Regions from separate parts of the Homo sapiens genome. Here all the other regions are linked to region 1. The links are contacts of gene promoters, found by promoter capture Hi-C in blood cells and fetal thymus (Javierre and others, 2016). All regions are on one chromosome and are shown on one strand. Each heading gives the region's core, a stretch centred on a gene start or on the middle of the fragment in contact. The rest is flanking DNA. Distances are from core to core; before and after follow the strand shown. Region 1 holds the start of CPOX (coproporphyrinogen oxidase). Region 2 has its middle 95 kb from the start of LINC00973. Region 3 has its middle 3.2 kb from the start of LINC00973. Region 4 overlaps DCBLD2 (discoidin, CUB and LCCL domain containing 2). Region 5 overlaps DCBLD2 (discoidin, CUB and LCCL domain containing 2). Region 6 overlaps DCBLD2 (discoidin, CUB and LCCL domain containing 2).

The links. Contacts are between HindIII fragments. The CHiCAGO score rates a contact against its expected background, and 5 or more counts as called.
Region 2: a fragment that was not itself captured here is called in contact with the fragment with the promoter of CPOX in region 1 in 1 of 17 cell types (megakaryocytes); the score reaches 6.2 in megakaryocytes.
Region 3: a fragment that was not itself captured here is called in contact with the fragment with the promoter of CPOX in region 1 in 3 of 17 cell types (fetal thymus, monocytes and neutrophils); the score reaches 8.1 in fetal thymus.
Region 4: a fragment that was not itself captured here is called in contact with the fragment with the promoter of CPOX in region 1 in 3 of 17 cell types (fetal thymus, erythroblasts and megakaryocytes); the score reaches 8.3 in fetal thymus.
Region 5: a contact is called between a fragment that was not itself captured here and the fragment with the promoter of CPOX in region 1, in 2 of 17 cell types (erythroblasts and megakaryocytes). The highest score is 10.6, in erythroblasts.
Region 6: a fragment that was not itself captured here is called in contact with the fragment with the promoter of CPOX in region 1 in 1 of 17 cell types (neutrophils); the score reaches 6.3 in neutrophils.

Annotation. Positions count from the first base shown.
Region 1 is chr3:98,591,906-98,595,076 of GRCh38, reverse strand. CPOX (coproporphyrinogen oxidase) reads left to right here and starts at 1,466. Exons shown (of 7, transcript NM_000097.7): 1 at 1,466-2,128. The coding sequence starts at 1,573. RefSeq lists an enhancer at 928-977 and a silencer at 1,478-1,927. The HindIII fragment of the contact is 5,536 bases long and covers 1-2,426 here.
Region 2 is chr3:99,008,334-99,011,504 of GRCh38, reverse strand. No RefSeq gene overlaps it. Among named protein-coding and RNA genes, the nearest start is that of LINC00973, 95 kb to the right of the region's middle. The HindIII fragment of the contact is 1,378 bases long and covers 782-2,159 here.
Region 3 is chr3:98,909,735-98,912,905 of GRCh38, reverse strand. No RefSeq gene overlaps it. Among named protein-coding and RNA genes, the nearest start is that of LINC00973, 3.2 kb to the left of the region's middle. The HindIII fragment of the contact is 2,136 bases long and covers 532-2,667 here.
Region 4 is chr3:98,892,341-98,895,511 of GRCh38, reverse strand. All of the region lies in intron 1 of DCBLD2 (discoidin, CUB and LCCL domain containing 2), which reads left to right. Among named protein-coding and RNA genes, the nearest start is that of DCBLD2, 7.8 kb to the left of the region's middle. The HindIII fragment of the contact is 3,386 bases long and covers 1-3,171 here.
Region 5 is chr3:98,873,641-98,876,811 of GRCh38, reverse strand. The region is part of intron 2 of DCBLD2 (discoidin, CUB and LCCL domain containing 2); the gene reads left to right. Among named protein-coding and RNA genes, the nearest start is that of DCBLD2, 26 kb to the left of the region's middle. The HindIII fragment of the contact is 1,489 bases long and covers 817-2,305 here.
Region 6 is chr3:98,850,470-98,853,640 of GRCh38, reverse strand. All of the region lies in intron 2 of DCBLD2 (discoidin, CUB and LCCL domain containing 2), which reads left to right. Among named protein-coding and RNA genes, the nearest start is that of DCBLD2, 50 kb to the left of the region's middle. The HindIII fragment of the contact is 3,478 bases long and covers 1-3,171 here.

The sequences.
Region 1 (3,171 bases), core at 217-2,716:
CCTTGCTAACATCATGTCCCAGTGAGAGCTGCCAGGTACAGTTGTGTGTGGACAAGATGCCAATTGATCTGACTCAAAAGCCATTGAAGTTCCATCAGTGCATCCTGCCACAAAGAAAACACTTGTGGGAAAAGCTACCAGTGGCTTAAATTATTATCTACTACTAGAAATTAAAATCATCCCGGAGACTTATGGGACAAATTAGCCCATGACAATAGTTCTCACACTTTTACGTCCAGGAACCATGGAGCTGTGGTATGGTTACAGGGGAGACAAAGACCTGCCTGTCAAATCTATTAGCTTCTTTCCTCATTTCTTTAAAGGGTGGGGGAAGGGAGACAGAGTAGGAGGAAGTGTGGATATTTGCCTTGCCTAGTTTGTAGCAGTTGTTGTAAGTATTAAACGTGAGCAATATTTGGGAGCACCCTACAGTAGTAGAATAACTATTTTTTAAATTCTTATTTGTTAATCACCAAAACACACCAAGTCAGGAATTTTCTACTGGTTAACCAAAACAGTCACGTTGCTTTTCCTTTTTCTAAAATAATCAAGTAGGCACTATAGAAGCAAGGCCTGGGGAAACCTTTTTTTTTTTTTTTTTTTTCTGAGACAGAGTCTCACTCTGTCACCCAGGCTGGAGTGCAGTGGTGCGATCTCGGCTCACTACAACCTCTGCCTCCCGGGTTCAAGCGATTCTCCTGCCTCAGCCTCCCGAGTAGCTGAGCCTACAGGTGCACGCCGCCACGCCCGGCTATTTTTTTGTAGTTTTAGTAGAGACAGGGTTTCACCATGTTGGCTGGTCTCGAACTCCTGACCTCATGTGATCCAACCGCCTCGGCTTTCCAAAATGCTAGCATTACAGGCTTGAGCCACCGCGCCCGGCCCCAGCCTGGGGAAATCTTAAGGACAGAACTGTGATGTGGACTCGATCACAGAAAGTCTTCTCCTCGACTCTCTTCCGAGTCCATTACTAGCTTCTCCCACTCTCTTTAGAAAACCATCCTTCAGCAAAGAGTTTCCCAGCCTGCCCATCCCCTCTAAAAACTCTAGAGGACCAGGACCCAGGGCGAAGGGCGGGTCTATACAGATCCTGAGCCAGGCTCTGTATTCGCAAATCCTGTTTGAAAATGTAAGCGGGACTGGGATCTCTGCCACATTTCCGCCCCAGTCCGCCCTCAGCCTCCCAGCCCTACTCTATCTTCTCTCCTTGGCTGAGTAAACAGCCGACCCGAGGTTGTACGTGACAAGAAAGCCTCTTTTATCTCTCCCGTCCCTTCCACAGCACCGTCCCCGCCCCACTCTCTTCCCTTCGGACCAGCCCTTCTGGGCGCGTCGGATTCTTATCTCCCGCCCCGCGCAGGGACGCCGCAGGCGGCGATAGGATCCGGACTACAGCTCCCAGCGCGCCCCAGTTCCCGCCCCCGCCTCCGGAGCCCGACGCTGCAGCGGCTCTTCTCGAAAGGTTCTTTCCGCCTGTGCAGCTCGCCGGCTCAATACTCCGGGGGTCTGGGTGGGGGGCTCAAACGCAGGGCTCTGGGACGCAGGCACTGCTCCAGGTGATAGTGCGGGAACATGGCCTTGCAGCTGGGCAGGCTGAGCTCGGGCCCCTGCTGGCTCGTGGCGCGGGGCGGCTGCGGAGGGCCCCGCGCCTGGTCCCAGTGCGGCGGCGGAGGGCTCCGAGCCTGGTCCCAGCGCAGCGCAGCCGGACGCGTCTGCCGGCCCCCTGGCCCGGCTGGCACGGAGCAGAGCCGCGGGCTGGGGCACGGCTCGACGTCGAGAGGCGGCCCCTGGGTGGGGACAGGGCTGGCCGCGGCGCTGGCGGGGTTGGTGGGGCTGGCCACCGCCGCCTTCGGGCATGTGCAGCGGGCGGAGATGTTGCCTAAGACCTCGGGGACGCGGGCCACTTCGCTGGGGAGGCCGGAGGAGGAGGAGGATGAGCTGGCCCACCGCTGCAGCAGCTTCATGGCCCCGCCTGTGACCGACCTGGGCGAGCTGCGAAGGAGGCCGGGCGACATGAAGACCAAGATGGAGCTGCTGATTCTGGAGACCCAGGCCCAGGTGTGCCAGGCTCTGGCACAGGTAGACGGGGGCGCCAACTTTTCTGTGGACCGGTGGGAGAGGAAGGAAGGTAAGGAGGCCGGCCCCTGGCGGGAGTTGGAGACAGGGAAAAAGGGTCAGGTTCCAGGTTGCAGACAGAAAATATAATAGTTCACAATATGGGATGGGGTAGGTAGGGGGTACCCACAGAGAGGCCGCTTGGTTAGAGGCCGCTGATAAAAAGATGGACACGAAAGGGTCACTAGCCCTCTGCTTGCAGGTATGGACCCGGATCAGCTGTCACTGTAGTACTGCATTTCAAAATCTTTGCAATTCCGTAGCAGCATTTTTTTGTAGAACTCTTAAGGGGTATTTGCAGCTAACAAGCTTAGATGTCCAAAGTTCGTTACTGAACATAAATTTCAATAGATTATGGAACACATTTTCTCTCCTTCTCTGGGTGAATTTGCCCTTTTTCCTCTTTAGGAGATGGAAAGAACTCATCTCCTGTGCGCTAAGTGTCGGCTAAACTCCTCCAGCCAGGATGTCATTGTGTCAGAATCTTCCCACTTCTTTTTACTGTTACACAAGATATATTTGATTCGTTTCTCAGTAGCACTACCAAATGCACGCATCAGATTTCCTGCTAGGAAAATCTTCTCTTCCAATATCAAAATACTTGAGCATCAAAACCCAGTTCTCGTAGAGGCGTACATTCATGACCATGTTGTTGCCCATACAGTGAAACCCCACATCTTGAGTGGAAACTTGAAAGATTCCTGACTTTTCCTAGCTGGAAATACAACAGCAGCTTCTCACCGGCAGATTTTGAGCTGTGATACTGACACATCTATATTAAATGAAGTTCAGTCTAGTTTTCCATCTTATGTTTTCAAGCAAAGACCACTGAACCAGGACACAACCTCAAGTACTAGACCAGCTGTGTGATCCTCAGAAGTTACTTTTTTATGGCTGTTTTCCCATCTATGAAATATATATGTATTTCATCTCTTTTAATCCTCATACTACATATATATATATATATATCCATATACATATATATATATATATATGGATGGAATATATGTGAAGTGCTTAGAATATTGTCTGAAGCATAGACAGCATTTAGACAAA
Region 2 (3,171 bases), core at 221-2,720, 420 kb before region 1:
TCATTATAATTAATGCCCCCTAATATACAAAGGGCCATGAATCTTTAAAAACAAGAAAATTGGTGAAATCAGGGAAAAGGAAATATAACTGGCCAAAAACACATTAAAAGTGCTAAACCTAACTGATGATTAAGGAAATAAAAATTGAAGAAATTATACTATCAGAATGGCAAAACAATTATTCAATGATAACAGCCATTGGTAAAGATGTGAGAAACTAGGTAGTTGAATTGAAGCTGATAAAATCTCCTTAGGGAGCAATTTGGTATTATGTTTTAAAATGTAAAACTCATATTCCCTTTGAGCTAGCTCTTCCATTTTCAGAAAGTTATGTTATAGACTCTCATATACACACACTAGTATATATACACATATGTATATATGTGTATAAACACACATGCTAATTGCCATTTTAATTTTTTAATTAAAAGCAACCTAAATGCTCACTGATAAGAAATATGTTAAATATAATATATAGGTATATATACACACACACATTACAATGTATTGGCATATTCATACATTGAAAAGCTGTGACATCATGAAGACACCAAAGCAAATCTAAATGGAGCTGTCTCTCAGGTACACCAAAATAATAAACATATTTTGGTAAAAATTGTGTGTGTACATATATATATATATATATATATATATATATATGTCTTTTATAACTACATAAGCTTACATAAGCATACAACGTTTTTGGAAAGATCCACAAGAAACTCTTTACAGTGGTTAGTTCTGGCAAAGAATACAAAGGGTCCAAAATGGAAGGAAAGCTTATTTCTGTCATCATGTACCAATTTGAACTATTTGAATTTTGTTCATGTGCATGTATTACTTGTTCAATAAAAGGAACATGTTACATATAATATTTATGTTATATATATTTATTTGACCTGCAAAAATAAATATTATATGTAACATGTTTCTAGTTTGGGAAAACCTCATTAAAGTTCTGTGAATATTCTTGTACAAATTGTTTTGTGGACACATGCACTACTTTTGGCACATCCCAAATATAATATACTCAAAGCCATCTGTATTAACTTCTCTCCTTCATCTTACATCTTCAATTCATTTTCCTGTTCACCAGGATGACAAAATTTTTTTTTAAAAAATATTCAATCCCTAGAATTTTTTTGACTCTTCTCTCCTCTTCACTTTCTGTGCAAAATGACTCTTCAAAAACTATTGTTCTCTTTCTCTTATAGTTCACATTGGCATATGACAGACTACTCAAAAATTAGCGTTGTAAAACAACCACCATTTTATTTTTCTTATAATTATGTGGGTTAGGAATTACAATTGGTTCAGCTAGGTAGTTTTCACTTAGGGCCTCCAATATATTTGCAATCAAACATCAGCTCATCCCTGTTATCTGAAGGATTAACTAGCCTTGACATCCAAGACAGCTCACTCATATAGCTGGCAGCTGGTAATGGCTGATATAGTTTGGATGTTTATCACTTCCAAAACTCATGTTAAAGTATAATCCTCCATGTTGGAGGTGGGGCCTAGTGAGAGGTGTTTCAGTCATGGAGGCTGCTCCCTCATGGCCTGGTGCTGTCCTGGTGATTGTGAGTGCATTCATGTGAGATCTGGTTGTTTAAAAGTGTGTGGCATCTTCCCCCTCTCTTTCTTGCTCCTGCTCTTGCCATGTGACACACCTGCTCCCCCTTTTCCTTCTGCCATGATTGGAAGATTCCTGAGACCCTCACAAGAAGCAGATGCTAGCACCGCGCTTATATGGTCTGCAGAACTATGAGCCAATTGAACCTCTTTTATTTACCCAGCCTTAGGTATTCCTTTATAGCAATGCAATAAGGGCCTAATACAGAAAATTGGTACCAAGGAGTGGGATCTTTCTATAAGGATACCTAAAATTGTGAAAGCAACTTTGAAACTGGGTAACAGGCAGAGTTTGGAGGGCTCAGAAGAAGACAGGAAGATGAGGAAATGTTTAGAACTTATTTTAGAGACTGGTTAAATGGCTGTGATCAAGATGCTGATAGTGATATGGACAATGAAGGCCAGGCAGATGAGGTCTCAGAAGGAAATTAGGAACTTATTGGGAACTGGAGTAAAAGTCATCCTTGTTATGCCTTAGCAAAAAACTTGACTGCATTATGTTCATGTCCTAGGAATAAATGAAAGCTTGAACTTAAGAGTGATGACTTCGCATATATGATGGAAGAAATTTCTAAGCAGCAAATGTTCAAGGTATGACCTGTTTCTAAAAACCTACACGTTGATGTGGGAGTGAAGAAAGGACTTAAAGTTAGAACTTATGTTAAAAAGAAAACTGTAAACATGTGCAAAATTTGCAGCCTATCCATGTGGTAGAAAAGAAAAGCCCATTTTCAGGAGATGATTGTATTTTGCAATATGAGAAGGGCATGAAATTTGAAGGGCCAGGGGCAGAATGATATAATTTGGATGTTTGTACCCTCTAAATCTCATATTGAAATGTAATTCCCAATGTTGGAAGTGGGGCCTGATTGGAAGTGTTTGGGTCATGGGGACAGATCCCTCATGGATGGGTTGGTGCTGCCCTCATGATAGTGAGCGAATTCTCATGATATCTGGTGGTTTAAAAGTGTGTGGCACCTCCTAGTCTCCTCTCTTGCTCCCACTCTCCCTATGTGATGTGCCTGCTCCCCTTAGCTTCCACTATAATGGGAATCTTCCTGAGGCCCCCACCAGAAGCAGATGCAGTGCCATGCTTGTCAGCCTGCAGAGCCATGAACCAATGGGATATTCCTTTCTAGCAATTCAAGAACAGCCTAATATAGTGGCTCTACCAAAGAACTTACATGTGTCCTCTTCAGAATGGTGGATTCCAGGTAGTAAGATTTCCTAGATGGTGGCAGATTTCCTCCAGGGCAAGCATTCCAAAAACACCAGGGGGAACCATACAGTCCTTCTAACCTAGCCTAAATTATTAGCCAATTGTTAAACATTGATCAAAACACCACTGACTTAGTTCTTCCTTCTTTGCTTTCTATGTTTGTGTACATGCTGAAAAGCATTTAGAAAACTATGAAGTGTTTCACAAAAGTTAGAAAATCATTAGAAAATGATTATAAAAAATGGGTCTTATGTCTATGACAGGATAGATTGCTGAAATATCAACTAATGTTTTGATCTCATTATATTTTTTACCTTGGA
Region 3 (3,171 bases), core at 350-2,849, 320 kb before region 1:
TTTATGATTTTTATGAAGGCCATGCTCTTACCCTCCACTTAGGTCAACGCAGTAGGATAAGCAATGTGCATCAAATATACTGATTATATTCACAAAATGAATCTACATATCTTTGGAATCAAGCATTGATTTAGAGAGATCACCAATAAATAATGCCAGATATGTGGTTTAAAAATCGTTCTTTTAAATTCAGAATTGTATAAGCACTAGGCATGTACAGTTTTTTACAATTAAAAGAAAAAATAGCTAAGTCAGGGAAATTATATTCTCCTTTGTTTCTCTCCTAGGAATTATTTTTGTCTGCAATCAATCCTTCAGAAGAATCTCTCACATCTTCACTTTTGTGCAGTATGTTAACTATGAACAAAATGATAGTGTATGTCAGTCAAATGTAATACTTATATTAAAACCTGATTATTAATGCAGAAGCTCATGGAAAGTAAGGTTAATCTGAATAATATATTATTTCTCTTAGTCCACAATCTATCATTTCACAAACCATGGTTAATAGAATGACAAAAATAAAAAGCTTTGTTTAAATGAAAATGTATAATATATTCTTCATCTCATTTATATCTTATTGTGTTAGGTAGGCGAACATAGCTAGTCTGTGAATGTGATAAAAAGAAGATGATACATTTCTTTGTTTTAAAAATCTTAAGTATTCCTGCTAAATAGTGAGTTTCCAAAGGCTTGCTATTATTTAAAATATTGCTTCCTAGTCTATTAACTTATTAAACAAATATCTTACAGTTTAAAGGATTCAAAAAGGCTGGTTAAAAGAAGAGATCTATGCATTAAAAAATCCCAATTTCTATTTTTTAATATTAAAAACATTCCTTTTAAATATCTTTTTTTCCAACTTTTATTTTAAGTTCAGGGGTACCTGTGCAGGATATGCAGGTTTGTTACATAGGTAAATGTGTGCCATGGTGGTTTGCTGTACAGATAGTCCCATCACCTAGGTATTAAGTGCAGCATCCATTAGCTATTCTTCCTGACCCTCTCCCTCCTCCCACCCACACCCTCCGACAGGCCCCAGTGTGTGTTGTTCCCCACTATGTGTTCATGTGTTCTCAACATTCAGTTCCCACTTATAAGTGAGAACATGTGGTATTTGGTTTTCTGTTCCTGCATTAGTTTGCTGAGGATAATGGCTTCCAGCTCCATCCACGTCCCTGCAAAGAACATGATCTCATTCCTTTTTATGGCTGCACAGTATTCCATGGTACATATGTAACCACATTTTCTTTATCTAGTCTATCATTGATGGACATTTAGGTTGATTACAAGTCTTTGCTATTATGAATAAAGCTGCAATGAACATATGCACACATGTATCTTTATAACAGAATGATCTATTCCTCTGGGTATATATACGCAGTAATGAGATTGCTGAGTGAAGTGATATTTCTGCCTCTAGGTCTTTGAGGAATCACCACACTGTCTTCCACAATGGTTGAACTCATTTACACTCCCACCAACAGTGTAAAAGTGTTCCTTTTTCTCCACAACCTTGCCAGCATCTGTTGTTTCTTGACTTTTTAATGATAACCGTTCTGACAGGCATAAGATGGTATCTCATTATGGTTTTGATTTGTATTTCTCTAATGATTAGTAATGTTGAGCTTTCTTTTTTTTTTTTTTTTTGAGACGGAGTCTCACTCTGTTGCCCAGGCTGGAGTGCAGTGGCGCGATCTCAGCTGCTCACTGCTGCAAGCTCCACCTCCCAGGTTCACACCATTCTCCTGCCTCAGCCTCCCGAGTAGCTGGGACTACAGGTGCCCGCCACCACACCCAGCTAATTTTTTGTATTTTTTAGTAGAGACGGGGTTTCACCATGTTAGCCAGGATGGTCTCGATCTCCTGACCTCGTGATCTGCCCGCCTTGGCCTCCCAAAGTGCTGGGATTGCAGGCGTGAGCCACTGCACCCAGTCGCATGTCTTCTTTTGAGAAGGGTCTGTTCATGTCCTTTGCCCACTTTTTAATGAGCTTGTTTTTTTCTTGTAAATTTATTTAAGTACCTTGTCGATGCTGGATATTAGACATCTGTCAGATGGGTAGTTTGCAAAAATTTTCTCCCATTCTATAGGTTGTCTGTTCACTCTGATGATAGTTTCTTTTGCTGTGCAGAAGCTCTTTCGTTTAATTAGATCCCATTTGTCAATCTTTGCTTTTGTTGTAATTGCTTTTGGCATTTTCTTTATGAAATCTTTGCCCGTGCTTATGTCCTAAATGGTATTGCCTAGATTTTCTTCTAGGGTTTTTATAATTTTGGGTTTTACAATTGTCTTTAATCCATCTTGAGTTGATTTTTGTATATGGTGTAAGAAAAGGGTTCAGTTTCAATTTTCTCCATATGGTTAGCCAGTTAGTTCTCCTAGCACCATTTGTTAAATAGAAAATCCTTTCTCTATTGCTTGTTTTTGTCAAGTTTGTTGAAGATCAGCTGGTTGGAGGCGTGCAGTCTTATTTCTGGGTTCTCTATTCTCTTCCATTGGTCTATGTGTCTGTTCTTGTACCAGTACCATGCTGTTTTGTCACTGTAGTCTTGTAGTATATTTTTCAGCCAGGTAGCATGATGCCTCCAGCTTTGTTTTTGCTTAGGATTGTCTTGGCTATTTGGCCTCTTTTTGGGTTCCATATTTGATCATAGTGGATAAGCTTTTTGATGTGCTGCTGGATTCAGTTTGCTAGTATTTTATTGAGGGTTTTTGCATTGATTCTTATCAAGGATATTGGCCTGAAGATTTCTTTTTTTGTTCTATCACTGCCAGGTTTTGGCATCAGGTTAATGCTGATGTCATAGAATGAGTTAGGGAAGAGTCCCTCCTTTTCAATTCTTTGGAATAGTTTCAGTACAAATGGTACCAATTCTTCGTGCCTATGAAGTGAATCCATCTGGTTCTGGACTTTTTTTGGTTAGTAAGCTATTTATTACTGCCTCAATTTCAGGACTCATTATTGGTCTATTCAGGGATTTGAATTCTTCCTGGTTCAGTTATGGGATTGGGGGTATGTGTTCAGAAGTTCATCAGTTTCTTCTAGATTTTCTAGTTTATGTGTATAGAGGTGTTGATAGTATTCTCTGATGGTTGTTTGTATTTCTGTGGGGCCATTGGTGATAGCCCTCATCACTTCCGATTGTGTTTCAATCTTCTCTCTTTTCT
Region 4 (3,171 bases), core at 386-2,885, 300 kb before region 1:
ATAAGATTATAACCTGGGGAGTCAGGAAAGTGGGAGTGTGAAAGCCCACCCTTTTAGAATGAGTAGCAAAACTCATTCTGGTCATGCTCCACTGTTTGCTTCTTGAACTCATGCCCTGTGTCTGCCCAGTTATTGGAAAAACGTTGGTTGGTTACTGTGGGCCAGGCATGGTACCACATGCTGGGGCATTTTCCTCTTGGAGCTGTGTTAATGACTTCCATAGTGTTGCCAGCAGCCCCTTTATCATCTGTAAGATACCGTCCAAACTCCTTTGCGTATCATGTAAGTAATTTTTTTCACAGTCTGGTCCCTCCCTTTCACTCTGACTTAATCTAATGCCAGCATTTCTCACACTGTATAGTTCAGATATGAGACTGAGCTAATTTTATTCTTCTAAGATATAATTTCATGCCATTTTGCCTTGTTCCCTATACTAACCTCTTCATATATGCAGTTTCCTCTACTTGAAATGCTCTTACTTTCCTTGTCTTCTCGGTAAACTCTCGATCAGCCTTCAAAACCCTTCTTGGGTATCATCCCTTTATGAAGAGTTCTCGAACAGTCCCCACACACTCATCTCCGGATAATACATTCCACACTGTATTCTAAGTATTTATTCCTGCCAGCGGAGAGAGTTTTATTCATTTTCTTATTTCTAATACTTATCATAGTGTCTGTCATTCAAATTATGTGAATTAAGAACCCCATTTCTAGAGTTAATCTGCTACCCTGAGCACATTATTTGGTTCATCCCTTGGCACCGGCATGCACTTCATGCTGTTGTCCTTTGCCTAATCCCCGTAAATTAGTGGTCAGTTCAGGAGCCGGGAACAGAGCCATGTCTTGACCCTTACTACCTGTTTGCTCAGAGCCTAACAGTCTTCCCAGCCTTTCCCAGTCCCACCTCTTCCCAGGAGGAAGACTCCTTTGCTGCACACCCTTGACTATGAGAGGAATCCTTCAAGCTGAAATTCTGAAAATAGACATGCCTACTTCTTAGAAAGCTCTGCTCCCCTCAGATGGGTCATCCTTAACAACCGTGACAGCCTAAATCAGTGCCAGCAATTTGGGCACACTTTCTCCTTTGCATGCTTTCAGCTTCTGACTTCAATAGGCATCTCCAATATTATAAAAGTCCCCCTAGTTTTTGTTCTCGTAGTTGCCTGTCTCCTTTTTCTTGCCAGTGGATGTTGCTGGGGAGCATTCAGGTAGCTTCACTAATCTGGTGTAATAGAAAAGTAATGAGAAATGGAGGCTGGAACGTATTGTGGAGGACTTCCCATTGAGGGGCAGACTGAGGAGTTTGTATCTGCGATGTTAGGCCTGACATTAGCCTCAGGTGCTTCCTCTTTCACCTGGTTCATTTGTCTGTCACTAGGTTTGGTTATCTCTTCTCAACTCAGGCACCCCAAATCCATCATCTCAACAATGCTCTTTCCGTGATCTTGGACAGTTCCCAAACTTGGGCCCATGTGATAATCCCCATTCTCTGCTTTCTCTGGTTCTGGATAGCTCATAGTTACAAGATTAAGTCATGTGGTCATCGTGATTAGATCTGCCACAAATGAGGTCTGGCTAATCAAGTCCCAAGTGGGGATTACTGCTTAGCAGACTATCTCACTTTGTAAAGCTGATTTGTACAGCCGAACTCCTGCCCTGCTCCTAATCCTTGCACAGTATGACTTCCTCCTGACTGAAACCTTGTCCTCTTCCTCTTTATCAGAGCACTGCTACATTGGGGAATGTGAATTTTGTTTTGGCATGCTTTACACTTTGATGGCACTTTTACTTTATATCTGGAAACATGCTCAAAATGCCACTGGCTTTTACATATCTCTTTTTTCATTGCTTTGTGGTACCTTGTATCTCTGCTTTTTTCAGTGACGAGCTTTCTAAATGGTAATCTACATTTGTGCTGTATATTTTCTTAGTGACTGGCACACAGCAGATATTTGTTAAATTGTTAATTTATTTTTTAACCCTTGCAATAAAAAAGCAAGGGTTTTGTTTCTGCTTTACTGAAACTGTCATTTACACTGTCAGATTTTTGTTTGTTTTGGTTTTTGTTTTAGTTTGAAAAACCAAGCAGCTTTGCCTATCTTTATTATTGGTTTCTTTTTTTTTTTTTTCTTACTACAGTGGTCTTTGAAAATCTGGAGGCTTTGGACTTGGACATACCTGGATTTAAATAATAGCCTTGTTGAACTTGACATCCAGTTACTACTCTAAATATTTTAAAATATGTAACTCATCTTTCTTTTTAGACTGTAACGAGGGCTGGGATTGAATCTGGGTAGCAAGTAAATTTTTGTTCAATGAATGAATCAATATGTCAAAGAAAATTTTGTTTCATTTTACTCTGCAGTTAAAATTTCCATTTTTATATGTTTCCGTTCCACTAAGACTCACTTTTCCATCCCTCTTCCCTTTATCCCCAATTATTGTTCCACCCCCAGCTCAGTGAGAGGAGTCAGAGCATGCAATAGAGGAATGTGGCAGAAAGGCATGACTGTCTCCAGCCCACCCAAATCTTAATGTGAGTTCTGTGCTCTCCTTTTTGACCTTTGCTCTGCCTCTTCAGCCTTCTGCCTGTTGGTGTGCTTCAGTGTTTTTTGATCCCCACCATCTCAGATCATTTTATCTCTTCTTTCCTGATATACCTTTGTTTCTGTCTACTCTTGGCATCCTAAAAGCCAGCTTTATAGGTCTGGATGTGAGGTGGACATTCTTTTGCATGCATGGAGGAAGAGTGTTTTAGTTAGGACTTTTGAGGTTATAGAGAACAGAAATCCATATCTGATTAAGGTAGAAGGAGAAACTATTGGGAGGATTGAGAGGGGAAGGCAGGAATGCAGCTAGACTTCAGGAACCAAGGACTCAGCTTAGTTCTTCCCTCTTGTTTCAGTCTGGCTTTCTCTTTGTGGAAGGAATCATGGCTGCTGGCAATCCCGAAGGCTTACGGTTTTAACACGGAGAAATTCTGTATTTTCCCTATTGTACAAGGTCCAGGAAAGGGTGAGTTGGCCCTCACATTGACCCAGTGTGATTCAGTACCCACCCTTGGACCAGTCAAATAACCAGGGGGCATGAGGTCATATTAAAACTGTTGGGAAACTGCAGAGCACCTTCCAGAGAAGGATAAGGCAGGGTACTAGATAAACAGAGGCATCC
Region 5 (3,171 bases), core at 312-2,811, 280 kb before region 1:
TCATGTGGATGTATCATAGTTTATTTAATCACTCTTTTATGAATGGTTGTATTGGTTGCTTTCAATATTTTACAGTTACAAACTATTTTTGTATTCTTAGAGGTGTCTTTGGTGTAGATTCCTGAAGTGATTGCTGAGTCAAAAGGTAAATTATATACTTTGTTAGACATTGCTAAATTGGAAGTTATACCAGTTTGCATTTCCATAGCATAAAAATGCTTGTTTTCCACAGCCTTCCCAACAAAGTGTGTTGTCATATCTTTTAAGTTTTGCCAATTGATAATGATAAATAGTGCTCAGTATAGTTGTAATTTGCATTTCTCTTACTATGAGTGAAATTGAACTGTTTTTTCCCATATGTTGACGGCCTTTTTTTTTTTTTTTTTTTTTTTTTTTTTTACTTTTTATCTCTTCCTGTCTTTTGCCCGTTTTTCTGTCAAGTTTTTTTTTATTTTTAAAGACAGGTCTTTCTATATTGCTCAGGCTGGCCTCAAACCCCTGGGCTCAAGCAATCATCTCACCTCAGCCCCCTGAGTAGCTGGGACGACAGGCACACACCATTTGCCCATCTGTCAAGTTTTATTGGTCTTTGTTTCTCTCAGGTTTTAGGACTTCTCATTATCTTTTAGGGATATTAGTCTATAAACATAATAGTGGTATATGCTACAAATAATTTCTCCTAATTTGTCAGTTGTCTTTTGACTTTGTTTATGTTACTTTTTTTCAACCATGCAAACTTTTAAAAATGTATTTATAGTTAGATTCATTAGTCTTTTTTTAAATTGCATCTAGATTCTAAGTCCTAGTTAGAAAGCTTCTTCCTATATCCCAACTAAAGATAAATTTACCCATTTTTTTCATAGTGGGATTATATGATTTCATTTTTTATATTTAGATCCCTGGTACATCGGGGTTTTTTTCTTTTGTATGGCATGAAGTATAGATCTCATTGTGTTTTCCATATGACTAACCACTTGCCCCATCACCATGCATTTAAAAGTTTATCTTTGTCCCAGTGGTTTGAAATACTGCCTTTATCATATACTGCAGTTCTGTATGTGCTTGGGTCTATTTCTGGACTTTGGGTTGCACTCCACAGATGTATCTATCCACATACCAGAATGTGACTGTTTTGTAAAGGCTTTCAGAGGCTTTACGGTATGTGTTAATGCCTGATAGGGCTTAGTCTCCTTTCAGAAACGTTCATTTTTAGTGTTTTCCTGGGTCTTCCTTCCTGTTTGTTTATCCATGTGAAGTTTAGTATCAGCTTATCTAACTCCACAAAAAAGCTCGTTGGTGTTTTTATTGACATTATACTGTTTATAAATTAACTTTATGATGTTGAGTTATCTTAAGTTCAAAACCAAGAGCTCTTTTTTTTTCTCCTTTCTTCACATCTACTTTTGTTGTCTTTAAGGATTGTTTTAAACTCTTTCTCATGTAGGGTTTACACATTTTTTGTTAAACTTAATCCTTAACATCTTATCTGCTTTGTTGCAATGGAGATGGAGGTGTTTTTGTTTTGCTGTTATATCCTGTAACGGGTTCCTAATTATGTGAGATTGTATTTCTGTATGTTGATTTTTTTCTGCTATTTTACTGAGTTTTTAAAATTATTTCAGTTAGTTTTATCATTCACTTTCTAGGGATTTTCAGATACACAATCACATCTGCAGATAGAGATAGTTCTACTTCCTTTTTTTCCATTTCTTATGCCTATGGTTGATTCTTTTATCTAATTGTATTGGCTAACACCTCCAGTCCAGGACTACGTTAAACAGTAGTGGAGAGAGTGAGCATCCTTTCCGGGTTCCTTATCTTAGTGGAAATTTAAAGTGTCTGAGCTCAGGTTGCCGTAACAAAATCTATAGACCGAGTGGCTTAAAAAAACAGCAGTTTACTTTCTCAGAGTTTTGGAGGCTAGAAGTCCCACATCAAGATGCCAAGCAATTCAGTTTCTGGTGAGGGCTCTCTTCCTGGCTTGTAGATGGCCACCTTCTTCCTGTGTCCTCACATGACGAGGTTGGAGGGATGAGGAGAGAGAAACAGCAGGTTCTCTTATGTCTCTTCTTATAAGTACACTAATCCTGTTGGATCAGCGCCCCACCTTAGGAAAACTAAAACCATTTAATTTTAATTACCTCTCTAAAGAGCCTAACTCCAACTCTAGTCATATTAAGAGTTGGGACTTCAACAGCAATTAATTTTGGGGGGCGTACCAGTATCTGGTCCATAATAGGAAGTATCCACTGATTTCCATTAAGTGTTGTTATCAAGAAAGACTATTGAATTTTGTTGAAAAGCTTTTTTAGCATCTATGGAGGTAATGATATGGTTTTTCTACCTAAATCTATTGGTATAGTGTATTATATTAATGGGTTCCCTAATATTGAAATAACTGTGCATTGTTGGAATAAGTATCTCTTGGTTATGATGTGACATTCTTTTAATGTGGCATTGGATTATGTTTCCTAATATTTTATTAGTATTTTTGCATAAATATTGGTGTGATATTAATTTGTAATTTACTTTGCATTTTCTTTATCAGGCTTAGGTATTGATACTATACATACAAATAAAAAGAAATATGAAGTTTTCCTTTCTTTTTAGTTCTCTGGAAAAATTTACAGAGAATTTGAACAATCTAGTTTTTGAAGGTTTCACTCTGTGAAGCTATTTTAGCCTGGTGCGTTTTTGATAGGATGCTTCCTTAATGACGTTCTCTGTTTCTTCTCAGGAAATTGGTCTGTTTGAGCTTTCTACCTCTAATGGGTCCAATTGTAATAAACGGTACTTGCCTGGTAAATTACCCATTCACCTAGGTGATCTAATATATTGGCCATGATGTCTGTAAAATAGAATCTTACAGTTATTAACATGGTTATTTCAGTGTTTTTCCAATAGTTATTTACCTCCTGTCATTTCTTATTTTACATATTTATGCTTCCCACCCTCTTTTTTCATTAAATTAGCTAGGGGCATGCCTATTCTGTTAAATTTTTCCAAAAAATGAATCTTGATTTATTAGAACTATTGTTTTTCTGTTGTCTACATTATTAATCTCTATTTTCATGATTTAAAATTTTTTTTTTACTTTGTTAACTGCTAGTTTTAGCTAGGCATTTAATTCACTTTTTCTTTCATTTTTATTGATAAAAATATCTAAGCCTA
Region 6 (3,171 bases), core at 197-2,696, 260 kb before region 1:
TTATTCATCTACTGTGGTTGATGTGGACATCAGAAGAGGCATGGTGACCATAAGGTCTCTATACTCTGTACAAGTGGCTACAAGCTCACTGCCAACAGGGTCTAGACAGATGAAATAAAGGAGTGAAATGGCCTAGGCATATGAAGAATAACAGCATAGCCATGATGATAAATGATAGCTGAGCTTCAGGACTGGTGGCATTGTGGAGTGATAGGGCTGTGGCAAACTGGAGTGTGACTTTCTTTTTCAAAGGGGACAGCTGCTACTTAAGGACAACCACTTAGAAAACTGGCCTAGATTTCCTTTTTTTCCTTGTGATTTTTCAAGAGAAGTTGGAAATTCAGAATTTATGTTAAGTTTCCAGATTTTGAGAACTTTAACACCTAATTTAAACATTTTTGAAGGAGAGTATAGCCCAGAGCTGTACAGACCAAGAGGCCTGTGGGCTAATTTGGGTCCTGAGCCATCAATTCTAACTTCGCCTCCATACCTCTATCAAATTCAATTATCCAAAAGCACAATATTCTTGGACTGTACACTAAATTCCTGGTTGTATTCTGTTTTACTTTGCTTCTTAATAAATTATCACAAGCCTACAACTTAAAACAGCGCAGTTTTATCATCTCACTTCCCATGGATCTGAAGTCTAGGCATTGCATGGCATGACTGAATTCTCTGCTTGGGGTCCCACCAGGCTGAAATTAAGGTGTTAGCTGGGAATACGTTTCTCATCTGGGGCTCACAGTTCTCTTCCAAGTGTACTAGTTGTTGGTAGAATTCAGTTCATTGCAGTTGTAAAACTGAGGTCCCCATTTTCTTGGTAACTGTTGGCCAGGGACTGCTTTAACTTTCTAGAGGTGACTTGCAATGGCCCTGATAGGCAAGTTGCTACATAGATGTTTGCATTCTTCCAGGCCACCTGGCATGTGTCTCTCTTATTTCCAATTCTGCAACCTGAGAAAACAATGTGCTTTTAATGGGCCTACCTGATTAGTTCAGGCTTACCCAGAAAAATCTCCGTTTTGCCATATATGTAACATAAAAGAAGTTAAAAATGAAACTGACAGGGAATCCTGGTAAGAAATACCCTAGAAGGCTGGGTGCGGTGGCTCACGCCTGTAATCCCATCACTTTGGGAGGCCGAGGTGGGTGGATCACCACAGGTCAGGAGTTCTAGACCAGCCTGGCAAATACGGTGAAACCCTGTCTCTAATAAAAATACAAAAATTAGCCTGGCGTGTTGGTGTGCGCCTGTAATCCCAGCTACTTGGGAGGCTGAGACAGGAGAATTGCTTGAACGTGGGAGGCAGAGGTTGCAGTGAGCCAAGATCACGCCACTGTACTCCAGCCTGGGTGACAGAGCGAGACTCCTTTAAAAAAAAAAAAAAAAAGAAATATCCTAGAAGCATTAAAAGATCACATACTAGAGGAAATTTTACAAGTAAACACACATTGGAAAAGTTAATCAAGAAAATAACAAGTTACCAGTCTCTTGATCACCAATACTGCTGGGGAGAAGGGGAATAAATTGGTACAGCCTTTTTGTTTAATTAGATTCCATTTGTCAGTTTTGGCTTTTGTTGCCATTGTTTTTGGTGTTTTAGTCATGCAGTCTTGGCCCATGCCTATGTCCTGAATGGTATTGCCTAGGTTTTCTAGGTTTTTTATGGTTTTAGGTCTTACGTTTAAGTCTTTAATCCATCTTGAGTTAATTTTTGTATAAGGTGTAAGGAAGGGGCCCAGTTTCAGTTTTCTGCATATGGCTAGCTGGCCAGTTTTCCCAACAGCATTTATTAAATAGGGAACCCTTTCCCCGTTGCTTGTTTTTGTTAGGTTTGTCAAAGATCAAATGGTTGTAGTTGTGTAGTGTTATTTCTGAAGCCTCTGTTCTGTTCCATTGGTCTACATACCTGTTTTGGTACCAGTACCGTGCTGTTTGGGTTACTGTAGCCTTGTATAGTTTGAAGTCAGGTAGCGTGATGCCTCCAGCTTTGTTCTTTTTGCTTAGGAATGTCTTGGCTACATGGATTCTTTTTTGGTTCCATATGAAATTTAAAGTAGTTTTTTCTAATTCTGTGAAGAAAGTCAATGGTAGCTTGATGGGGATAGCATTGAATCTATACATTTGGGCATTATGGCCATTTTCCTGATATTGATTCTTCCTATCCACGAGCATGGAATGTTTTTCCATTTGTATCCGCTCTTATTTCCTTGAGCAGTGCTTTGTAGTTCTCCTTGAAGAGGTCCTTCACATCCCTTGTAAGTTGTATTCCTAGGTATTTTATTCTCTTTGTAGCAATTGTGAATGGGAGTTCTCTCATGATTTGGCTCTCTGTCTGTTATTGGTGTATAGGAATGCTTGTGATTTTTTCACGTTGATTTTGTATCCTGAGACTTTGCTGAAGTTGTCTATCAGCTTAAGGAGATTTTGGGCTGAGACAATGGGGTTTTCTAAATATACAGTCATGTCATCTGCAAACAAAGACAATTTTACTTCCTCACTTCCTGTTTGAATACCCTTTATTTCTTTCTCTTGCCTGATTTCCCTGACCAGAACTTCCAGTACTATGTTAATAGGAGTGGTGAGAGAGGGCATCCTTGTCTTGTGCAGGTTTTCAAAGGGAATGCTTCCAGTTTTTGCCCATTCAGTATGATATTGGCTGTGGGTTTGTCATAAATAGTTCTTATTATTTTGAGGTATGCTGATTTTGAACTTTTTAAAGCAATTTTATTCCTAAGTTTTTTAACTTTTTTGATGCTATTATGGATGGAGTTTTAAAAATTTCATTTCAGATTGCACTAGCATATATGGAAATGCAGTTGATTTTTGTATATGGATCCTGTGACTTAGCTAAGTTTCTTTACTAGTTCTAGAGAGGTTTTGTTTTGTTTTATTTGTCAATTCCTTAGAATTCACTACTCATAAGATAAAGTATCATCCTTGAAAATGATATCCTTGGAGGTCCACATTACTCTTATTCAAGTGATGTTGCCATAGCTTAAAACATTTTTGGAAGTCCTTATTCAGGCTTTCTTACACAAGTTACCAAGCACATAAGAAAATCAGTTTTTATTATTTATTAGTGTGTGTCTTGCTTTAATTTTTCTTCTTCTTTCTTTTTATCTTAGTATCTTAGATCTGTACTGAGGATATGTTATTTTTTATATATC